Regions from separate parts of the Homo sapiens genome. Here regions 1 and 2 are each linked to region 3. Evidence: promoter capture Hi-C in human tissues and cell types (Jung and others, 2019). All regions are on one chromosome and are shown on one strand. The core of a region is centred on a gene start or on the middle of the fragment in contact, and the rest is flanking DNA. Distances in the headings are between cores, read along the strand shown.

Region 1 (2,700 bases), core at 175-2,674, 100 kb before region 3:
ACTATATATATGTAGATGGCCAATATGCATATAATGCTTATGTATATATTCCTTGAAATAAATAATTTATATTTATCATTTATTTATAATCATATATGTATGAGTTATTTCAAGGAACTAGCTGATGTAATTGTGAGGACTGGCAAGTTTAAAATTTGTAAGGCAGGCTAGCAGGGTGGAAATTCAGGCAGGACTGGCTGCTGCAGTCTTGAGGGAGAATTTCTTCTTCTGTGGGAAAATTCGGTTTTTTGCTCCTAAAACCTTTCAACTGATTAGATAAGATCCATCCAGTTGGAGAGTATAATCTCTTCTACTTAGAGTCAACTAATGGTATATGTTATCTATGTCTACACAATACCTTCACAGCAACAACTTAAGTTTGTATTTGATTAAATAACTGAGTACAACAACCTAGCCAAGTTGGTGCATAAAACAACCACACCATTCTTTACCTCATTTGAACTTCCCAATTTCTTTTAGCTAAGCAGAGAAGTTAGCATTATCTACATTCCACAGATTCCAATGCTGAGGCTCTTCTGAGTGGTGATTTGTTCACTTGTACACAGCTAGTAAATGTTATTTCTGGATGTAATAATTAAACCACAGGTTTTGACGGTCTTAAATTCTTAAAGTTAGATCATACCACCTTTCTCACATAAAAGTCATTCATTTATGCATTCAGTAATCATGTTGTAGCCCAATCATGCGCTAGGTACTGATTGAGCAAGAGAGACCTGGGGTTCTGACATTTTGGAGCTGACTCTCTGGTGAGGGAGCCCAACACACTGACATTATACACACACATGTGCACACACACACACACAGCTGCTCACAGCATTTGAAAAGCTTCTTTAAAATGATTGGCAAAGTCTGGGAGAAGTAGGATTGTCATCCATAACAGAGAAGCATGGGACTGAGAAGGCAGCTCAGAATATGCAGCAATTGTTTTTCAAAGAGAGATGAGACAAGCTAAATAAACTCAGTTTCAGCGTGTTAAAGAAGAGTCTGAGATCCATGCCTGTGGTGGAGAGGGTGGTGAATCAGGAGTCAAAAAAGCATATGTTGAATTTTTTCCTTTGGCATGAGCGACTGGTGGGAGCTGGGTTGGAGCCAACATGGGGCAGGCCAAGGCTTCAGCCGGAAGTGGACTGGTGGCACAGGGCGGCCAACCAGGCAGGCCACCCTTGGCTTCTGCTCCTGGGCTCTATGTGCTAAATCTCAGGAGGAAGAATGAATCAAGGATTACCCCTTTGGCTGATGGAGACATTTTGTTCACTTCACAAAATCAGTAAAGTATTTTATGTGGTTTCCAGCAAATGCAAAATACATACAGGCATACATTGTTTTGTTGACTTTGCTTTATTGCACTTGACAAATACTGAGTTTTTTACAAATTGAAGGATTGTGGCAACCTTGCATTCACCAAGTAAGTCCACTGGTGCCAGTTTTCCAACAGCATGTGCTTCCTTCATGTCTCTGTGTCACATTTTGGTAATTCTTGCAATACTTCAAACTTTTTCATTATTATCATATCTGTTATGGTGATCTGTGATCAGTGATCCTTGAAGTTAATATTACAACTGTTTGGAGTATCACAAACCACACCATATAAGATGGCAAACTTAATAGATAAATGTGCGTGTTTTGACTGCTCTATGAATTGGCCATTCCCATGTCTCTCTCCCTCTCCTTGGATTTCCCTGTAACTTGAGACAATTAGATCAATTAACAACCCTACAATGGCCTCCAGGTGTTCAAGTGAAAGGAAGAGTCACACATCTCTCACTTTAAATCAAAAGTTAGAAATGACTAAGCTTAGTGAAGAAAGCATGTCAAAAGCCAAGATAAGCTGAAAGCTAAGCCTCTTGTGTCAAATTGGCCTCTAGCCAAATTCTGAATACAAATAAAAAGCTATTGAAGGGGCCAGGGGTGGTGGCTCACGCCTGTAATCCCAGCACTTTGGGAGGCTGGGGTGGGCGGATCACGAGGTCAGGAGATCGAGACCGTCCTGGCTAACATGGTGAAACCCCGTCTCCGCTAAAAAAAAATACAAAAAAATTAGCCGGGTGTGGTGGCGGATGCCTGTAGTCCCGGTTACTCAGGAGGCTGAGGCAGGAGAATGGCGTGAACCCGGGGGGCAGAGGTTGCAGTGAGCCGAGATCCCACCACTGCACTCCAGCCTGCATGACAGAGCGTGAAGATGTGACTGAATTGTTGCAATTCATAGGTCACATGCTGAGCTATTGGGAGTAGATATTTGACACAGGAATTTTGGAGGAGACACAATTCAACCCATAACAATCAATGTCTCTTAAATCCATTTTACCCTGGGAGGTAGGCAAAGCTAAGATTGTTATTCTCATTTATAAGATGGGTAAAATCATCAAGGCTCAGGACCACTGAGTAAGTGACAGATCTGTCCCTGACCTCACTCCATCCCACACTTAATACTGCAAGTTGTACCTTCAGGCTACATTAGGACACACGGAACCCCACTGATGTCCACGGTGTAGGTTCAGTAAGGGTCAAGCCACAGCCTATGGGCTTGTCAAGAAACTGCTGGCTGAGAGAAAATGACTGAATTAATAAAAGCACCTGACTGTGAAGCACTCCTGGAAGGGATTTTAACCTGAAAAGGAATAAGGAATATTGCCAGGTCTGTATCCCATCAGTCTCCAAATACTAGGAAATGGTGCCAGA
Region 2 (2,700 bases), core at 104-2,603, 78 kb before region 3:
CTTCTTCTATTGGGATTTTATTTCAGAAATGATTTTTTTTTTTTTTTAATTCCAAGGCCTCCTTCTGGTTTTTATGCTTCCTATTCTTGTTTCAGCTCTTATCTCTCCGGGGATGTTAATTGTAAGTTATTATATTTTAATTTTCTTCTGCCCTGCATTGTCTCTGTGTCCTCTGAATTCATTATTATTATTGTTTGTTTGTTGTAATCATCTCTTTTACACTCATGTTTGAAGGCTTTTCAGATGCCTGGTATCCTTGGCAACCCATTCATACGTTCATACTTCTTTGTGACTGTGGATGGGACATGCCGACTCTCTATCTTTTCTGTGGAGTTCTCAGGCATCTGGTTAGCTTTTGTTTGGCACTTTATATAAAATCTACAAGTCTTTTTAAATGAATTCCTTTGGTTTCCCCATAGAAAAACACATTCTGCCCTGTGGCCAGAGCTCCAGCTACCAAGGCCCAGGGGGAGGGGCAGGGGGCGGGTGGGATGCGGTTAGAAAGTGAAATGAGACTTCCTTGGTTCAGTATGCAAATCTTTCCCTTCCCCTTCCCCGTGTTTTAGGCCATATATTAGACATCAGCCTTGCACTATGTGTGGTGCCCCAACTCAGGAATGAAATGATTCTGTTTTCCAAGAGAGCAAGCCTCAGGTCTCCAGTGTTGTGAGGCACGGCTAACTCCCTAGTAGTCTGTAGTAAGAAAGGGAACCGGAGTGCTCACGATTCTTTTTCAGGCTTCCAGCTAATCTCCCTGCTTTTGCTCCCAGCACCCTCTCCCTGCTCTTTCTGCCACAGCTGAGATTCGTAAGGGTTCTGTGGGTCACATCAGCTCACTTCTCATAGCACCCCACTTTTGGGGTCCTTGTGTTGGCATGGTCTTTACCCCACTTTCAGACTTTTCAAAATATGTTGGCATCTCTTGCTGTGGATGCCTCTCCTGTGCTCCTTTGTCCTTGGGACAAGGGCATGTCTGTAATCAATTCAAAATTGTTTTTAATAGAGATAGGATCTCACTATGTTGCCAGGCTGGTCTTGAACTATTGGGCTCACGTGATCCTCCTGCCTTGGCCTTCCAAAGTGCTAGGAGGAAATATTTTTCAATATTTTCCAGTATTTTTAAGGGAAATCCAGACTAGTTTTAAGGCAACATTTAAAACTCTCATGCTTTCCAGGGCCCTGCTTTGAAAACTTTTGAAGATATCCAGATTCCTTAGTTGAGGCTATTTCCACAGTGCTCCTGAGTCTCTGTGGAATCAAATGACTCAAGCAGCTTCAAGAATCCCTTGTATAACATGACCTTTAGAAAAGTAGAGAAAATGAAAAGCTTCTCTTGGAATGCAAATCATCAATTGTTTGAAAAATCCAAAGTTTGCAACATCATCTCAGGGTGGCTGCAAACATCAAACTGATAAAAGAGCCTCTAGAGCTCCTTTTCTGACATAGGGAATTCTGTGTTTGTTTTTCTTATTGTCTTGAGGAGTTGCAGGAGAGCTTTTCTGTTTTCTCTTTTCTCTTTTAGTATTTTAAAATTGAATCAGACTTGAAGTGACTCCTCCTTGAGCATGTGCTAAAGCAGCTGTGATGACCGGAAGTCATGGCCAGAAAATCTTCCACAGGAAACAACACACTCACACACACACCTTTAATTATTCAAACTCCCAAAGGTTCTGAAGTTAAACAAGTTCTTCCTCGGGAGAGCAGACTTGACCCTCTTTTCCCTACTCTCTTCCCCAACCTCAACTCCTGCACAAGAACTTCAAGGACGCAGCCATAAATTAGGTTGACATCTAGAAGCCCCCTCCATCTAAAACTGATGGAGAACCACAAAAACTGGGAAGGTTTCCTCCTCTGGGGCTGTGAATTTCTGCTTCTCTCATTAATAAGATAATTTTACTTCCTTGGGCAAAATGGAGCATAGCTGTCTCTTATTCATGACAGAGAAATCATAATATTATTTTAGTTTATCTTCAGCACCCCTCCAATTCTCATTGAGTTATTCTGGGCGCAAACCAGGTTATTTTTGGCATTTCCAATGTACTAAGCTTCATGAAGAAAAGAGGCAGAAAAGCAGAGTATTTAGGATCCCGGTATTAAACACACTTGGATTGAAATCCTGGCTCCCTCACTACATGCCTATGATGTTTAGTAATATCTGAATATTATTGGTTACTTAATTTATAATATTCATAATTATCTATGAAATACATAATAATATAAACTTTCAATAGGACAGTGAGAAGGATTAAATTTAATAAAGCATATGAGGAGCTAAACTTCTGTGGCATATAGTAAATGCTCAATCAATTTAGGTTGTCATGATTGTAATCAGGAAGATAAAATAACGTGTGTGTGTGTGTTTAGTTATGCTAGATAGGTGATTTTTGAGCTGCAGAGATTTTGAACTCTTAAACGAAGGAATACCATCATTCTCTGTGCTGGACAGACTTTCTGATGGCTCCAGCTTAATTTCCATCATAATGTTGTAAGACTTTCTCCTTAGTTTAGCTAAAAATTGGGTCCTTGCCACATGACCATGAAATATTAGGCTCGCAGACTCTTTGAAGGGTGAGAAAAATGGAATTTATTGGGCGAAAAGGAAAAAAACTCAGCAACACGAGATAGGTTCCTGTAAACATGCTCTCACATCAGATTGAATCCCAGCTTCCACCCAGGAAGAGGAGGGGCCAGGCTCCTGCC
Region 3 (2,700 bases), core at 81-2,580:
GCTAACAGGATGTGAAAGTCTTCCAGAAGAAATTCTTGCAGCCAGCTTTGCGTTCTCGGGGTGCCATAGCCGGGTTTGAGTTAGCAGATCTCTGCAGCTCAAGCCTCATTTCATCCTGCTCAGCAGCCTGGGACAGATCTTCAGGTTCCAGGGCATCATTCTCCGTCTGGTTGGGTTCAGACAGCAGCTCTGCCAAGAAGTACTTGGCCAGTTCCTGTATAGGGCAGAAGGGATAGAAAAAGAGAGAAAGAGAAGTGGGGAGGACAATGGAAAAAATTTGAAAAGCCTAAATTAAAGAACAGATTTGGTCACACACAAAATCCAGTTTTTACAGCTGCGCATTTTTTGTCACATTTAAAATCAATCAAGGATATAAAAATAAGGATAGTTGCTATAATTACCAAGTTACACAAAAAGGCTTTAAGAGCTCAAATGTTTCTGCAACCTTTCTGTCCCTGTAGACTTAACACACACACACACACACACACACGCACAAACACACACACACACACACACACACACATAAAGACCGTTCTGGTAAGATAAAGTGTGTGCCAACAGTTTAATTCAATTTTCACATCACGAGCTACAAAGTAGAATTGTTTTACCATTTTTACCAAGTAAACTGTAGGGGAACGAGACTTCTCACAATCTCAAACATACGGCGTTCGGTCTTTAGATTGCCCCTTTGCCCTAGTCCCGACGTTTGGAAGTGAGGTACGCTAAGAGGTAGCAGCTTCAGAGGTCTGCGTTTCAGCACCTGGGTCAGCGCTTCCCAGGGTCAGCACCAGGGATAGACGCCATTGTCGCTTCGTGCCCAGACAACTACCCAGATTTTGTAATTTTCTTGAATGCCAAGTAAGAACTCACCTGAACTGTGACCGACTGCGCTTATCATGGGGGAAAAAAAGAGTTAGAAGGGGATTCTAGCCTTTGATAGTTTTCTCAAGAGCTTCGGGAGCTGAGGGACCCAGAAAAGCACCAAAACTCTTTAGAAGGACTGAGCATCCCTTACGTCCAAACCAATGGGGCAGGAGCAAGGCTTAGGGAGGGCTGGAGAATCCGGGAGACGTCGAGGGAGTCTCCTTACCTGCTTCCCCGCGGCAGCAGCCAGGGACTTCTGCAGAAACTGACGGAGTCTGGGGTCCGAGGGAGCGCCGGTGACACAGCCCAGGGCCAGGACGATGGACAGCGCAGCCAGCGCGCACTGGAGGCGGCAGGACAGCATCTCGGCGCCGCGAAAGCCGAGCTGGAGAGTGGCTGGTCAAACTCTAGGCGCGGATCAGCAGGCAGCAGCGATGGCTCCGAACCTCGCTCCTAAAGCGGCTTGTGTGCTCTCAACCGTCTCCCTCTGTTTTAAACTCTCTCTCTGACGTCAGGCTAGGAGGCGCCCCCAGATCTCACCAGCCCTTTTACGCACCATTAGCCTCGCAAAATCAATCACAGAAGACAGGGGAGGTGACAAGATCTAAAGTGGCTTACTTAAAAAAAAAAAAATACTGCACACGCACAGGCACACACAATTCCACATGCCCCACGATTTATACAATCTTTTATTTTCACTCAGTGCTATGAGCATACACATTCCACAATTTCACTCCCACACATGCACACTCAATTACACACAAACAGAGGCTCAAACACTCAGCTCTTAAAGAGCAAATACACTATCACCCTTAAATGCACACAAATGTACCCAGACAACTCCATCTGTCATCATACTCTAACATTTTAGGAAGGCCCAACAAGCAACAGGGCATGTGTATGGTAGGTGGAGATCAGAATCATTCCTCTAATAACAGATTTGAGAATGAAATATGGACAGTAGAAGGACTGAGCCCTCTTTATTTCCTCCATTATCTCATAAAAAGCCTTGAAGATGTAACGGGGCTCTAAAAGAACTTCACTTTTCTCTACAATGGGGGAGAAGGTACCTCTGGCTCACCCTCCCTCCCTCTTTCTCAGCAACTGAGACTTCTGATCTACCTGCCTTTCTATTGTGACCATATATATGTATGAGTGTGTGTATATGTACGGGAGGGAAAGAGAGAGAGAGAGATTGAAATGGACTTCATTTTGGTGCTGAGAAATTTAGAGCTGGAAGGCAATCTAAGAAATTATTCAATAAACCTCAGAATTTGAATCAGTAAGGCAGAGTAATGGTCAGTAAATTGTTCTCCTTCACATACTGCACACTTTGAGCAAAACCAGACCTCCACATTCCAAAGCCAGTGTTCCTTCTACTGAGCTCTGAGTTTTCTAACAGATTCCTGGCCGGTAAGCATAGTTTTATGTCAGGAAGCCCCAGTTTAGACATATAAGGTCTAGGAACTCCCAGAACATATGTGACCACTATTGTATATCTATATGTGGAAAGGATCAAAAGATTCTTGGTTAAATTCAGCTCTGCCTGATCTCCTAGAAACAAAGAAAGTTTAAGAAAACCTGTCCTTGAATTCTGATTGAACTCTGGTTAAATGTTTACTGTTCAGGCCAGAGTTCTGACTGCTTTTATCTAAATAGTTCCTTACTGAGGAAGGACCAGCTAATTTCCTAGCATGGACGAGATGATCCCTACAGGATCTTTAAGAGCTGTTATCTTATGAGCTTCAAAAAAGCCAATATTAGCTAAAAAGATATGCTGCATCTCTGGAAACCATGCGAAGCTCATATTAGGTATTAAAATATTCTCAGTACTTA

Evidence for each region. The method cuts DNA at HindIII sites, captures the fragments that hold promoters and counts their contacts. A contact is called where the count stands out against the background at its distance.
Region 1: a fragment that was not itself captured here is called in contact with the fragment with the promoter of SST in region 3 in 2 of the 25 tissues and cell types used here (H1 embryonic stem cells and neural progenitor cells).
Region 2: a contact is called between a fragment that was not itself captured here and the fragment with the promoter of SST in region 3, in 4 of the 25 tissues and cell types used here (liver, mesendoderm cells, stomach and 1 more).

Annotation. Positions count from the first base shown.
Region 1 is chr3:187,567,319-187,570,018 of GRCh38, forward strand. No RefSeq gene overlaps it. Among named protein-coding and RNA genes, the nearest start is that of SST, 100 kb to the right of the region's middle. RefSeq lists enhancers at 125-1,108, 1,109-2,091. The HindIII fragment of the contact is 3,547 bases long and covers 1-2,700 here.
Region 2 is chr3:187,590,767-187,593,466 of GRCh38, forward strand. No RefSeq gene overlaps it. Among named protein-coding and RNA genes, the nearest start is that of SST, 78 kb to the right of the region's middle. The HindIII fragment of the contact is 3,762 bases long and covers 1-2,700 here.
Region 3 is chr3:187,669,064-187,671,763 of GRCh38, forward strand. It overlaps SST (somatostatin), which reads right to left and starts at 1,331. Exons shown (of 2, transcript NM_001048.4): 1 at 1,091-1,331; 2 at 1-214. The coding sequence starts at 1,228. The coding sequence ends at 2. The HindIII fragment of the contact is 6,645 bases long and covers 1-2,700 here.